5 separate regions of the Homo sapiens genome follow, and all the other regions are linked to region 4. The links are contacts of gene promoters, found by promoter capture Hi-C in human tissues and cell types (Jung and others, 2019). All regions are on one chromosome and are shown on one strand. Each heading gives the region's core, a stretch centred on a gene start or on the middle of the fragment in contact. The rest is flanking DNA. Distances are from core to core; before and after follow the strand shown. Region 1 holds the start of PDCD6 (programmed cell death 6). Region 2 holds the start of AHRR (aryl hydrocarbon receptor repressor). Region 3 has its middle 73 kb from the start of LPCAT1. Region 4 holds the start of BRD9 (bromodomain containing 9). Region 5 overlaps NDUFS6 (NADH:ubiquinone oxidoreductase subunit S6).

Region 1 (2,700 bases), core at 1-2,500, 620 kb before region 4:
CCCAAAGCTGGGCACTTCCCAATTCCGGGATTTGTGCTACAGGCACTCCAGGCTCCACCTTAGAACTGTGTCCAGCACGAAGGCAGTGCTGTCTTGCGGGAGGCAGGGCTGCACCACCACCGGGGTGTGAAGGGGCCCAGCAGGCAGGGGTGTGAAGGGGCCCAGCAGTGTTTCCAGCTGCACGGGGTCAGGGGCCGCGCTGATGCAGAGCACGGGGGCGCAGGTTAAACCTAAAGGAGGGAAGCTTTTGGGGGCGGAACAGACAACCGAGAATGCTGCACACTGCCTTTCCCACCCGAATTGTGTTTTGACTTTTTTTTTTTTTTTTTTTTGAGACAGAGTTTTGCACTTGTTGCCCAGGCCTGGAGTGCAATGGCCCGATCTCGGATCACTGCAACCTCCTCCTCCCGGTTTCAAGCAATTCTCCTGCCTCAGCCTCCCGAGTAGCTGGGATTACAGGTGTGCACCATCACGCCCGGTTAGTTTTGTATTTTTAGTAGATACGGGGTGTCTCCCAATTGGCCAAGGCTGGTCTCGAACTCCCGACTTCAGGTAATCCACTGGCCTTGGCCTCCCAAAGTGCTGGGATTACAGGCGTGAGCCACCGCGCCCGGCCTGCTTTTGCTTTCTTTTTTTTTTTTTTTTTTTTGGCAGAGTCTCGCTGTCCACCCCTGTAGTGCAGTGAGCTCGGCTCCCTGCGGCCTTGACCTCCCGGGCTCAGGCAATCCTCCCGCCTCAGCCCACGGAGTAGATGGGACCACAGGAGCCCACCACGCCCGACTACTTTTTGTAATTTTTGTAGGGATGGGGTCTATCCATGCTGCCCAGGCTGGTCCGAACTGCTGGGCTCAAGAGCTCCGCCCGCCTCCGCCTCCCAAAGGGCAGGGATCACAGGTGTGAGCTACCGCGCCCCGCCCAGAGTTTCCGACTGTTAGCAAATCACATTCACCTCAAAACTATTTATACAAGAACTGAAAGGCAAACTAAGTCCGTGCTCCATCACTTCCTGTCCCAGGTCGCGGGGCCGGACATTTTCTCCAAGCGCTTTCCTGGCACAGCGCGCAGGCGGCCTGCGCCAAAGCTCTGGCTTCCTCCAGGCGCCCAGACCCCGCCCTCCCCGCAGGCGCCAGGGCGTTGCCTGGCAACTTAGCTGCGAGGGGATTGGCTGCGCGGGACCCCGTGACCATCCCGGAGACCACGCATTTCCTGCGCCCCCGGAAGTGGTGATAATGCCAGGCCCTGCCCCCGGCAGAGGCGGAAGCGGAGTCGGCCTGAGAGGTCTCTCGTCGCTGCAGGCGCCTCAGCCCAGCCGCGTGCCTTGGCCCATGGCCGCCTACTCTTACCGCCCCGGCCCTGGGGCCGGCCCTGGGCCTGCTGCAGGCGCGGCGCTGCCGGACCAGAGCTTCCTGTGGAACGTTTTCCAGAGGTGCGGCCTGGCACCGCCCGGGCACCTCCCGCCTCCGCCGCGGCGGCCCCGACCCCTGTCCCGACTCCCCCGACCAACCCCGTTCCCTGCCGGTTCTACTGCGGCCTCCTCCGTCCCCTGTCGGGTCCCCCGCGGCCCCCTCCCGTCCCCTGCCGCCGCCCCCGACCCCTGCCCCAGCCGACGCGGCCGCCCCCGTCCCCTGGCGGGTCCCCCGCGGTCTCCCCCGTCCGCTGCCCGGTCTCCTGGGGCCGCCCCTGCCTCCTGCCCGGTCCCTGTCCTGTGCGTCGGGCCCTTCCCAAGATGCAGAGTGCGCCACTGCAGACCCGAGGTCGCGGCCACCGGCTCCTGGGCTAGGCCCTTTTTCTCGCCTCAAGAGCCGCCAGGTGGAGGGTCTCCAGGGTGCTTGTTTGGGGAAAGCGGAAACAGACTGCCTGGGCGCTGTTAAAATGTCAGCAGCCAAGGAAGAAGCAGCGACCTGGCGTCTGCTCGGGCCAGGTGACCTTTATGGCGGCGCCTTCTGTCCCTGGTCGCTTTTCCACCGAATGTCCGAAACTGTAGTGACTGATGGCCAGGGAATGGCTTAGTTATCTGAGGGAATCTTGTCTTGTCTGTGAAAAAGGGAAACGGGTGCAAATGGGAATTCAGACAGGCCAGGAGAGGAAGGAAGGGAAGGATTGAGGTGAAGATGATTGTCCTCTTAGGGGAAGACCACACTGGACGTCGGCTCCTGGGGCACTTCCTTGATTCCGCTGTACTCCTCAGCGGGACGGGAGAGGCGGAGGTTCCAGGAGGGAGCCTTCCAGAGTCGGTGCAGGGTTGACAGAAGACGTTTGTTTTGCTTTTCCTGAACTTTCGATCGCCAGCTTATTTGGTCTTCTTGATGTTATAGGGTCGATAAAGACAGGAGTGGAGTGATATCAGACACCGAGCTTCAGCAAGCTCTCTCCAACGGTGAGTGGGCCAGTGGGAACTGGGTCTCCGGACCAAGAAGCCGCGAGCCTGCCCTGTTCACAGTGGATAACTTTCTGAAGTTGTTTTTCCAAGGACAAAGGAATCATTAGGACAAATTGTTATTACTGCTTCGTAGTGGAGATGCTTCTGGTTTATTTTGTGGCTACCGCTGTTACTGCTTGGAGTGCCTCACCGAGCCAGCTAACAACTGCGTGCGTGAGCACAGGGAAAGGCTTCTTGAGAAATGAAAACTAGATTGTAGGTTTAGGAGGGGAATAGGAAGCTTAGCTCTGTACAGCCGAAAGCCTTTTGGTAAGTTGGAG
Region 2 (2,700 bases), core at 201-2,700, 570 kb before region 4:
CTGAGATCGCACCACTGCTCTCAGGCCTGGGTGACAAAGCAAGACTCTGTCCCAAAAAAGCCCATTTACTCAGCTCACATTTTTGAGCCTCTGCTATTCGACAGGAACCAGAGGTGAGCAGAGCCGACTTGGTGACCCCTGGGGACAGAGCGGCAGAACTCAGCAATTCTGGGCTGCCCTGCAGGAGCTACACCCGGGGAGGGGCGGTGGCCACTTGGGGGCAGGGTGGGCTTCTCAGCTGCGCCCACCCCACCTTGGGAGCTGTGTCTGGAAAAGAGACTTTTCCTGAGCCGACAGCAGACAGCGAGTGCAAAGGCCCCAAGGCCCGCACGCCTTATTCAGAGAACAGCAGGAGGCGCGGGGCGGGTTGGGGGCGTCAGGGAGACGGGGTTTGACTGAGAACCTGGGGGCGCCAGTGACAGCCTCGGCCGCGTTGCTGAAAACCGACCTTGCGGGATGAAGAGGGCGCGGTTCCCCCGGCTGGGATGAGGACCGCGGATGCTGAGGAGCGGACTCCAGGGACCACCGACTCCATGGCCGGCCCCAGCGAGGGCGAGAACGGGTGGAAGCCGGCCAGGGTCTGTGGAGACGTCAGGGTGCGAGGCCAGGCTGAGGTGTCCCCAGGGATCCCCTGAGGGTACAGGGAATTCAGCCAGGGCCTGCGCGCCCGGACGGAGGACTAGAGGGGGCCAAGGACCACCGGGAGGGGGAAGGAGAAGGCGCAGCCCGAGGTCGGAGGGGCCGGCGGGCGCGCAGAGGGCGCGGGGTGAGCCCTAAGGACCTGCAGGCAGGACCCTGCTCTCGGCCGCGCGGTCCCGGGTGCCGACCGGCGGGGTGGGCGGGGCAGGGGCACCCAGGGCCGCACACCTGCCGCGTGGGACCCTGAAATGCCCAGGACGAAGAACGTCGCACGGACGACCCTGCCGTGCCTGGCGCGCGTCCGCTTCCTGGGAAGCTCAGGATCCAAAAGCATCTTAATATTCTCTATAATTCGCCAAAAACCATGACTCCTTTTACATTTTCGAAACGACCTCATGGGGCAGGCGAGGGGGCACACGCTCTCCTCACTTTACCTGTTCGGGTCTACACCGCCCGGCTCTAGGGCCGGCAGCTCAGCACAGCCGGCCGCGAGCGCTGGGGAGGGGACGGGGGCGCAGGGAGAACCGGGGGACCCTGGGCGCACACAGACCCCAGGGGGAACGCAGGGCCTGGAGGGGCTCAGCGCGCGACCCCCGCCTCGGGGCACGGAGACTCCGGGGGATCACTGGGACGCGAAGGGCGCAGGGCGGACCCCAGGGGAACCGGATGGCGTCTCCGGTTCGCCAGGGCAGCTGGGGCAGCCGGACCCGAGACAGCCGGACCCGCGGGCGCCCTCTGCCGCCTCCCGGCCCTGGATGCTGCGGGGCGGGGCGGGCGGCTCGCGTGCCGGGGTGGGGCAGTCCCTGGAGCCGCCGCGGGTTCCCGGGATGCGAGCGCCGGCACCCGCCGCCACAGCTCCTGGCCAGGGCGCGCTGCCCCGCGGGTGTGCCTGAGCCTCCGCGCCCCGCAGGCCCTGGGTAAGTGTCCTGGGCGCCCCCGCAGGCCCCCGCCGCGTGCCGCCCGCGGTGGAGACGGGATGCGCTCCCGGGTGTGGGGCTGAGGGACGGGCGCCGGCGTCGGGACCCTCCTCACGCCGCATCCTCGCGTCGCCAGGCCCGGCGGCCCCGGGACGGGGCGGACACTCTGGGGTGCGGCTGGCTGGTCTCACTTAAAACTCGGACCTCGGAGGGAAGCCGCGGCGCGTCCACGGTTCGTGGTCCTCAGCGTCCCCTCGAGAGTGTTCTGAGCCTTCACTCCCCGGGCGTTCCGTGCGGGCCGCGCTCCCTGGGGCTGGGCGGGTGCGGGCGGCGGAGCGGGGCCCCGCTGTCGGGCCGAGGGCGCCAGGTCCGGGGGGCCTCACCCCCGGGAAAGGCCCATGTTCAGGCTTGGTTTCAGTAGCACCCAGTAGCGCTGAAGTCTTATTTTGAGCGGCCAGAATTCCCAGACCGGATGCCCTGAGAGAGCGATGTGGCGCCTGGAGTCCACGCTGGGACCCCTTCTGGGGAGGGGTCGCCATGGGCGCGTGACAGGCAGGGGCCACCCTCTGACCTCTTCTGCGAGGCCGGAGGTCAGAGACCTTGTGCAGAAGCGTCCCACGGGCCTGTCCCACGGGCCTGTCCGGCTGTGGCCTCCGGGATGGCAAGGGCAGGCGGGGAGGGGCTTCCTCCCTGGGCCTCCTGTGCGCGCGCACAGGCTCTCGTCTGCGGGGTTCTTGCAGAAGGGTGGGCGTGTGCGCGCGTTCTCCAAACGCCACCCCCACGGGGCCTCACAGCCGCCCCGGCCTGGCAACCGTCACCCATTTTACGAACGAGGACATCAAGGTAGGTCGCTCATCCAGCCTCTCAGAGCAAGTGACTGGCGGCGTTTGGACTCGGGCCGAGTGTGCCATACCCATCCCGCACAAAGCCGGGGCTCGATGCGGCCCCAGAGTCGCTGAAAAGCCACGAGTAACAAGAACTGGAGAACGTAGGATGCTGACCCGGCGGACGCCGCCGCCTGGGGAGCCGCTTCGACGGGGGGGACGCCACCGCCTGGGGAACGGCTTTTATTTTCGTTTTCTTACTTATCTGTATTCTCTAAAATGAACAGACACGAGTTTTACCACGGGAGAAAGGTTCTTAG
Region 3 (2,700 bases), core at 201-2,700, 700 kb after region 4:
TTGGCTTGCAGGGAATGAACGTAATAGCTCCTAGACTTTTTTTTGAAAGTTATGCAGTTTTAGTCCTGTGTTAATTACCTAATTTTGTTTTGTTTTGTTTGAGACAGAGTTTTGCTGTTGTTGCCCAGGTTGGAGTGCAATGGCGCGATCTCAGCTCACTGCAACCTCTGCCTCCAGGGTTCAAGAGATTCTCCTGTGGAGCTTGCAGTGAGCGGAGTTCGAGCCACTGCACTCCAGCCTGGGCAACAGAGCAAGACTGCCCCTCAAAAAACAAAGAGATTCTCTCGCCTCAGCCTCCCGAGTAGCTGGGACTACAGGCCCCCGCCACCACGCCCAGCTAGTTTTTGTATTTTTAGTAGAGACAGGGTTTCACCATATTGGCCAGACTGGTTTCAAACTCCTGACCTCAGGTGATCCACCTGCCTCAGCCTCCCGAAGTGCTGTGATTGCAGGCGTGAGCCACCGTGCCTGGCCTTAATTTTTTAATTCTATAATTACCACATGTAGGGGTGGGTTGCCCCTCCACACCTGTGGGTGTTTCTCGTAAGGTGGAACGAGAGACTTAGGAAAGAAAAAGACACAGAGACAAAGTATAGAGAAAGAAATAAGGGGACCCGGGGAACCAGCGTTCAGCATATGGAGGATCCCGCCAGCCTCTGAGTTCCCTTAGTATTTATTGATCATTCGTGGGTGTTTCTCCGAGAGCGGGATGTGTCAGGGTCACAAGACAATAGTGGGGAGAGGGTCAGCAGACAAACACGTGAACAAAGGTCTTTGCATCATAGACAATGTAAAGGATTAAGTGCTGTGCTTTTAGATATGCATACACATAAACATCTCAATGCTTTACAAAGCAGTATTGCTGCCCGCAGGTCCCACCTCCAGCCCTAAGGCGGTTTTTCCCTATCTCAGTAGATGGAGCATACAATCGGGTTTTATACCGAGACATTCCATTGCCCAGGGACGGGCAGGAGACAGATGCCTTCCTCTTGTCTCAACTGCAAGAGGCATGCCTTCCTCTTATACTAATCCTCCTCAGCACAGACCCTTCACGGGTGTCGGGCTGGGGGACGGTCAGGTCTTTCCCTTCCCACGAGGCCATATTTCAGACTATCACATGGGGAGAAACCTTGGACAATACCTGGCTTTCCTAGGCAGAGGTGCCTGTGGCCTTCCGCAGTTTTTGTGTCCCTGGGTACTTGAGATTAGGGAGTGGTGATGACTCTTAAGGAGAGTGCTGCCTTCAAGCATCTGTTTAACAAAGCACATCTTGCACCGCCCTTAATCCATTTAACTCTGAGTTGACACAGCACACGTTTCAGAGAGCACGGGGTTGGGGGTAAGGTTATAGATTAACAGAATCTCAAGGCAGAAGAATTTTTCTTAGTACAGAACAAAATGGAGTCTCCTATGTCTACTTCTTTCTACACAGACACAGTAACAATCTGATCTCTCTTGCTTTTCTCCACACCACAAACCCCTTAGTATTAAGCTCCAAGACATATTTTTGTCATATCTTTATTGCTTATAATTTTCTATCTTTAGATATTAAGTATTTGTTGAAAATCCCATGAAAAGCTTTCAGAAATTGGATTGCATTTCTTGCTTATTATACATCCCTTGACTATTTTGTAATTGTGTGTATTTGTGGAGGTCACATGTAAATAAACTTAAAGTGACTCTACTTTGTGAAAATGTGAAACTTCGTGTAGGTACTCAGTAAATCAGTAAATTCTTACTAACGTTAGCCCCCAGCCTAGCTATGGAGGGTGCATGCTGAGCCCGAAGCAGAGAGCTCTGTAATCTCTGCATTCATCACCACCATGAGGAGGCCTCAGAAGCTTCTAGCACTGTTTGCACCTTCCCCACATCACCCCTCCCTGCCTTCCTCACAGTCTTCCTTCTGATCAGAAGACCCTTTCCTTCTTTCTCTGCCTGTCAAAATGCTGCTCACTCTTCAAACCCTAGCTCATATGAAAGTGTCTGGTGTGAGCCCACTTTTATTGAGTTGATTCTGTATCTTTGATACAACTGTATGAGGGTTCTCCAGAGACACAACAAATAGAAGGGAGACGTAAGAAATTGGTTTAAAGGTTCAATTGCTAATCTCATCCAAAAACACCCTTACAGACACGCCCAGAAATAATGCTTAACCATGTATCTGAGCACCTCATGATGCCGTCAAGTTGACAAACAAAATTAACCATCGCAGCAGCCATACATTTAAATATATTTGTACCAGAGAACTTACCTGATTCTACCTGCACTTCAGATGCTTAAGACATGTCTGTTTTCTCCACTTTCCCCAACCAGATTGTGAGTCGCTTTCACCTAAGGTCTTGTTTTTTTTTCCTTTTTCTTTTTCTTTTTTTTTGAGACGGAGTCTCGTTCTGTCACCAGGCTGGAGTGCAGTGGCGCGACCTCGACTCACTGCAACCTTCACCTCCCAGGTTCAAGCGATTCTCCTGCCTCAGCCTCCCGAGTAGCTGGGACTACAGGTGCCCGCCACCATGCCCGGCTCTGGTCTAGTTTTTTTCTTCTTTGAATCCCGTAGGGCCTCAGTGCTGTGCAGCAAGCACATAGTTAAAACTGAAGAAAAATTTCTTGAATAAAAGTAGTTAACGTTTTTATTCTTTACTTCAAGGTATATCTCCATGAATAACCTAAATGATCCCCCAAATTGGAATATCCGGCCTAATT
Region 4 (2,700 bases), core at 125-2,624:
TCCTCACAGAGACCCTGGCAGGGTCTGCTGAGGAACAGCACACCCAGGATCCTGGAACTGAGTCTGCGGGCCTCAGCGGTTCGCGTTTTGCTACCAACGGAACACCCCCTCCCCTCCTCCAGCCACGCAGGCGCACTCTGCCTGGGTCCTGGGACCAGGCTCCCCACGGGCTCCTCGTGGGCAGCGTCCGGGCCACCGCCGCTGCTCCTTTACCTTTCGCTTCCTTCTTTCCTCATCGTCCAGATGCTTCTCCTTCTCGGACTTCTTCTTCTTCTTCTTTTTCTTTTCTTTGTGCCTCTCTCGCTCATGGTCTGACCTGTCATCATAGTAACTGGAGTCGTGGCCGGATCCTGAGAGTTCAGTCACTTCACTTCCTCCGACCTTCAGGACTAGCTTTAGAGGCTTCTCCAGGGGCTTGTCGGCATAATCTGCACAGACACAGACCGAGTTCTACCCGCGTGCTCAGGTGCAAACGCCACGCAGCCAGGTGAGACGTGAAGGTGCTAAGAGGGAAAGGCCTCCCTAAGGAGTACAGCGGGGCTGCCAACCAGCAGGGAAAGACGGAAGGGAAGACCACAGTGGCGGCATGTCACTGCCTCCTTGTTCTCCCTTCCCCTCCGCAGGGAGCTTCAGGTCCCTTTCGAGCCACGGTGTCCTCACCAGAGGCCCTGTGGGATGTTGTTCACATTACTCGTTCAAGAAGATGGATTAAGAGGGACCTGGAACCCCGGAGCCCGATCTCCCTCCTAGAAACCCCCAGCACTTCGGTTCACCCTCGCCTGACTTCCTGCAGGCGCCCGTGCTGCCCGCTGACACCCATGGAGCTGCTGCGGGAGCAAGGGAGAGGGAGGGAAAGGCGGGAGAAAGGGCAGCCCAGCTTCTCCCTGAGCTCCACACAAAAGCCAGCACAGATGCTTCCCTAGTCTCCAGGACCGGGGTGAGTGGGCTTGCAGCCTCGAACCCAGAACCCTCTACCAGGAACGTAAGCGCCTACCCAGGACCCCTCACGTGTGCCCGGTTCCCTGCCCGAAATCCCAGGACCCCCTCCCGCGTGCCCAGAACCCCTCCCTCGTGGCCAGGACCTCGCCCGGTGCCCAGGACCCCCGTCCGCGTGCCCGGAACTCCTCCCCCGTGCCCGGGACCCCGCCCGCCGCGCGTCACAAAGCGCCGCCGCCTCACCCTCGTAGGACGAGCGCCACTCGGCCTTGTGCTTCTTGTGCTTCTTGCCCATGGCGGCGCCGGCGGCGGGCCCGAGGCGGGGGCTGGGAACAGCTGGCACCCGGTCGGACCTTGGCCGCCACCGCCCCCTGGCCCTGGCTGGCCGCCCGCGCTCGCTGCGCCGAGGTTGCCGAGCTCGCTGGGCCGCGCCGGAAACGGGGCGAGGCGGGGCCGCGGCAGGAAGTGGCCCTGCCGGGCCCGAGCGCTTCCGGGTCAGGAGGTGGTGCGCCTCGCGCGGCAGATTCGAAGCTAGGGCGGGGCCCGCGGGCTGAGGCAGCGGCTGTGGCGGCGACGCTGGGCGTGAGGTGGCGGCGGCCGCGCCCTGGTTGGGTCCCCACTGCTCTCGGGGGCGCCATGGACGAGGCCGTGGGCGACCTGAAGCAGGCGCTTCCCTGTGTGGCCGAGTCGCCAACGGTCCACGTGGAGGTGCATCAGCGCGGCAGCAGGTGAGCCGGACCTGTCCGACACATCCTCTGGGCACCCACCCGCCCCGACCCCAGCGCGTGCACCGAGCCCCGACCCCAGCGCACTGATTCTGATGCGACCGAACCCCAGGGTACTGATCCGGCCCGACTGGACCCGGGCGCACAGGCCGCCGGGCCCCGACCGGATCCTAGCGCAATGACGCGACCCCACCGCAGGGCACTGACCCGGCCGACCCGAGCCCTGCGCGCAGGACCCCAGCTCACAGATTGAGCCCCGACCCGACCTCAGCTCACGGACCTGGCCCTGACCCTGCCCCTGCCCCGGCTGTCCTCCAGTGCATTGATGTGGCCCTGAGTCCCACGTTGGAGAATAGGATGGCTGCGCATTACAGAGAGCTCTAGTCTCAGCCGAAAGCTGGGTGGTTATTCTTTGAGCCACTGCTTCTCAGACCCTTTAATTGTTCCCGTTCCTCACGGACTCGATGTTAAATTTTTAGGGTTCAAAGCACATCCCACTCATTTGTGACCAAGTCAGTTCATGGTATGGTGGGGCCTGTGGGCTGTGCTGCTCCCTGGAGTGGGGGGAACTCAGCGGCGGGGCCAGACCTTCACAGACCCTCCTTATGTCCACGGAGGGTGGATTGAGGTCAGGTGAGACCACCAGCCTCAGAGGGGATGCAGAGGAAGAGACCTTTCCTTTAACAGAATAGCTGTTGACTGGGTATTTTCTAGGTGCTGGAGTTCAGACACGTCAGCATAATTGCACCAGGGCCCAGAGACACCTGCACAAAGCCCCATCACAGCCTGGCGACACCTGTGTAAACACCTTAGCGCTCAGAGACACCTGTACACAGTGCCACCGCAGCCTAGAGACACCCCATGTACAACCACACCTGGGCCCAGAGACGCTAGGCATAATCACACCAGAGCACAGCTGCACCTAGAGGACAGACACCTACGTACAACTGCACCAGAGTTCATAGACACCTGCACACAACCGCACTATGCATGGTGGTCGCTGCTTGTAGGGTGCTGGGACGATTGCAAAGGGGCCACA
Region 5 (2,700 bases), core at 58-2,557, 920 kb after region 4:
AGGGACTCGGGCGGCTGCTGACCTGGGGTGCAGGGAGAGGGGGAGGCCACCGACAGTGGAGCACTCAGGGACTCAGGCGGCTGCTGGGCTTGGTGTTCTCCCCAAAGCAGAGTCCTGGTTAAGGGACTTTAACTTCGTTAGAGCTGACATTTATTAAAAGCTGTCATTATCTTGTTGCCTGTCCTGAAAAGGGGACAGTGTAACAGGCATAAATGGTTAAGCAGCCTAGAGTGGGACTGGGCACCCGGCATGTCCCCTCCTGGGCTCCAGCCCTGAAGGCCAAGCCTGGTTGTGCCTCACTGTCGTGTGCAGCACCCACCGCCTGCTCCAGGCCGCTGAGGTGTGGGGAGTGAATGGAGCTGCAGGCTGACAGTGATGTCCCTGGGGGTCCTAGGGGATGGCTGCGTAGCCCGGGGTGGGAGCCTGAGGCCAGGGGCTTCGGTCAGCCTGGAACCGAGATCGACAGTCTGCATTCTTACTTCAGTAGTAACTGCGTATTTTTGTTTCTGACAGTCTAAGTTTTATACATACATTTTCAATGCTTAATATCTAGATTTGAAGTAGAATATGGAAATATGACATCATTCCTTTTGAATTTTTTCAGGACAAAGAAACAAAAACCGGCACATGCGGTTACTGTGGGCTCCAGTTCAGACAGCACCACCACTAGAGCGTGTGGCACGCCGGGGGTCCCGCAGCATCCTGTGAGCATTTCCGCGGGGAAGCTGAGCACGTGAAGCTCGCTGGTTCTGTGCGAAGGGTATTCCTGGTGCTGAATAAAGGGTGTTGCTGTCAAGGCTGACAATTTGTAAGTTTGTTTCTTTCATAGTCTGGGCTTTGGAAGTGAACATCCACGTGGACATGGGTAGACATGCGAGTGGAAGCAGTGCCCGCTCCAGTGAGCCTGAGCTGCCTCCTGCCGGCCGCTGCCTGCCTTACCGGCTGCTTCTGTGTGTCTCCTCTTATCCTTGGGGCCACGTGGGCTGCAGGAATGGGCGGGGGGCAGGGAAGGAGAAGGAGAAGTGCCTCTTGTTTTGCAGATGCAACTGTGCTTCAGAGAGCCAAGGTGGGTCTTGAGGTGCATAGTGAAGGAGGGTGCCCAGGCCTCAACTGGTCCTATGGGAAGGTCAGCCTCTCTCCTGTTGCTGGCTTGCAGAGCTGGTCTATCCGTCCGTCCTAGTCCCTATGTTGAAATGTCAGATCTTAAAACCCAAGAATTTAAGCACTGGTTTGAAGGCATCGAAAGTCACATACTGGCCACATTAAGGACAGTCTATGTTTTTAAAAGAGTAAGGATTATAATGTAGTGTAACATAAAAATAAAAGTAGATTTTGAGGGAAGAGAAAGGAGTCTTGCTAGAATGATCCAGGAGTCTGGCCTGTGAGTAACGGGAATTCCAGAGGAGGAAATACCAGAGCAGAGGGAAGGTAAGAGGGAAGGTGAGACGGAAGGTGAGAGGGAAGGCGAGAGGGAAGGCGAGTGGGAAGGCGAGAGGGAAGGCGAGTGGGAAGGCGAGAGGGAAGGCGAGTGGGAAGGCGAGAGGGAAGGCGAGTGGGAAGGCGAGAGGGAAGGCGAGAGGGAAGGCGAGAGGGAAGGCGAGTGGGAAGGCGAGAGGGAAGGCGAGTGGGAAGGCGAGAGGGAAGGCGAGAGGGAAGGTGAGAGGGAAGGTGAGAGGGATGGTGAGAGGGAAGGTGAGGCAGAAACAGCAGAAACACATTTCCCAAGCCAAAGAAAAACCCACAGATCACAGGGCTCACCAAGTTCCTAGCAGTATTGGTGAGAAAAGACAACTAGGCATATTCTGGTTTAAGAAAAGAATTAAGCTGTAAACTTTAGAGTCTAGAAAAAAGAAAACCTTTTAAGCGCATGGATGAAAACAAATTGTAGTGGAAAAGTGATCAGCGATCAGGTATCCACCTCTTTGTCTTTGATGCTGGAGGCTGGAAGAGTGAAACATTGTCCACAATCTTCATGCATAACCAAAGTTAAATTCCTTATCCTGAGAGGAAGACATTCTTGGATGTGGGAGAGTTCAGAGGTCATCATCCTGGACCCCACTGGGGAAGATACCTTGAGGAGAAGGCCTTACCCAGCAGACATGATCACAGCCCTCGGTGTGGGGAGGGAGGCTGAGGCAGGAGCGGCTGCTAGTGGGAACCAGTTCATTCCAGTGGCACGCTACCCAGACATGCGTGTGAGGCCATGCTCCCGGGCTGCAGGGACAGTCCAATCATGTTGCCCTTGGTGCTGAGTTGGGAGGTCTGGGAGGGGGAGAGGGAAGAAGGGGATGCAGGCATCCAGGAGGTCTCTGGGTTGGGTGGGTGGAGGTGGAAGGAGGCTGAAGCTCCCTCTTGGAGTGGCGTGAAAACAAAATGGAGACAGATGTGATGGAGTACATTGATGCCACCTGGATTCGAAATAACTGTGGCGACATCTGTGAGCTGTCCCCGTGAGGGCCCAGAGAGGGAAGAGCAGCAGGCCAGGAAACTGAAAATGTGGATGCAGAATAACCAGGGATGGGGAGAGGTGAAGGGGTGGGGCCAGGGGAAGGGGGAGAGAAGGGAGGAGCGAGGACTCAGAGCCAGGAGCCAGGCCAGCCCCTGGGGGAGCCACTGGTGGAGATGAGGCCCCAAAGCTCCACCCTGGGCTACGGATGCACCCCCACCGTCTCTAATATACCACATGCTTGTCCTTCATCT

Evidence for each region. The method cuts DNA at HindIII sites, captures the fragments that hold promoters and counts their contacts. A contact is called where the count stands out against the background at its distance.
Region 1: the fragment with the promoter of PDCD6 here is called in contact with the fragment with the promoter of BRD9 in region 4 in 2 of the 25 tissues and cell types used here (bladder and heart right ventricle).
Region 2: a contact is called between the fragment with the promoter of AHRR here and the fragment with the promoter of BRD9 in region 4, in 2 of the 25 tissues and cell types used here (lymphoblastoid cells and mesenchymal stem cells).
Region 3: a fragment that was not itself captured here is called in contact with the fragment with the promoter of BRD9 in region 4 in 3 of the 25 tissues and cell types used here (aorta, bladder and heart right ventricle).
Region 5: a fragment that was not itself captured here is called in contact with the fragment with the promoter of BRD9 in region 4 in 1 of the 25 tissues and cell types used here (dorsolateral prefrontal cortex).

What each region holds. Positions count from the first base shown.
Region 1 is chr5:270,396-273,095 of GRCh38, forward strand. PDCD6 (programmed cell death 6) reads left to right here and starts at 1,251. Exons shown (of 6, transcript NM_013232.4): 1 at 1,251-1,426; 2 at 2,316-2,377. The coding sequence starts at 1,326. PDCD6-DT (PDCD6 divergent transcript) reads right to left here and starts at 1,129. Exons shown (of 2, transcript NR_104613.1): 1 at 950-1,129. It overlaps PDCD6-AHRR (PDCD6-AHRR readthrough (NMD candidate)), which reads left to right and starts at 1,251. Exons shown (of 13, transcript NR_165163.2): 1 at 1,251-1,426; 2 at 2,316-2,377. RefSeq lists enhancers at 1-292, 954-1,043 and a silencer at 1,334-1,543. The HindIII fragment of the contact is 6,729 bases long and covers 1-2,700 here.
Region 2 is chr5:320,264-322,963 of GRCh38, forward strand. AHRR (aryl hydrocarbon receptor repressor) reads left to right here and starts at 1,451. Exons shown (of 11, transcript NM_001377236.1): 1 at 1,451-1,556. All of the region lies in intron 3 of PDCD6-AHRR (PDCD6-AHRR readthrough (NMD candidate)), which reads left to right. RefSeq lists silencers at 663-922, 1,073-1,562, 1,653-2,032, 2,043-2,102 and enhancers at 1,687-2,254, 2,343-2,462. The HindIII fragment of the contact is 29,634 bases long and covers 1-2,700 here.
Region 3 is chr5:1,595,475-1,598,174 of GRCh38, forward strand. It overlaps the pseudogene PDCD6P1. Among named protein-coding and RNA genes, the nearest start is that of LPCAT1, 73 kb to the left of the region's middle. The HindIII fragment of the contact is 3,047 bases long and covers 1-2,700 here.
Region 4 is chr5:891,427-894,126 of GRCh38, forward strand. It overlaps BRD9 (bromodomain containing 9), which reads right to left and starts at 1,375. Exons shown (of 16, transcript NM_023924.5): 1 at 1,180-1,375; 2 at 214-428. The coding sequence starts at 1,231. It overlaps TRIP13 (thyroid hormone receptor interactor 13), which reads left to right and starts at 1,458. Exons shown (of 13, transcript NM_004237.4): 1 at 1,458-1,664. The coding sequence starts at 1,573. RefSeq lists silencers at 716-934, 1,125-1,744 and an enhancer at 744-1,376. The HindIII fragment of the contact is 22,788 bases long and covers 1-2,700 here.
Region 5 is chr5:1,815,247-1,817,946 of GRCh38, forward strand. It overlaps NDUFS6 (NADH:ubiquinone oxidoreductase subunit S6), which reads left to right. Exons shown (of 4, transcript NM_004553.6): 4 at 605-802. The coding sequence ends at 670. Among named protein-coding and RNA genes, the nearest start is that of NDUFS6, 15 kb to the left of the region's middle. RefSeq lists enhancers at 534-1,045, 1,767-2,268, 2,269-2,700. The HindIII fragment of the contact is 9,600 bases long and covers 1-2,700 here.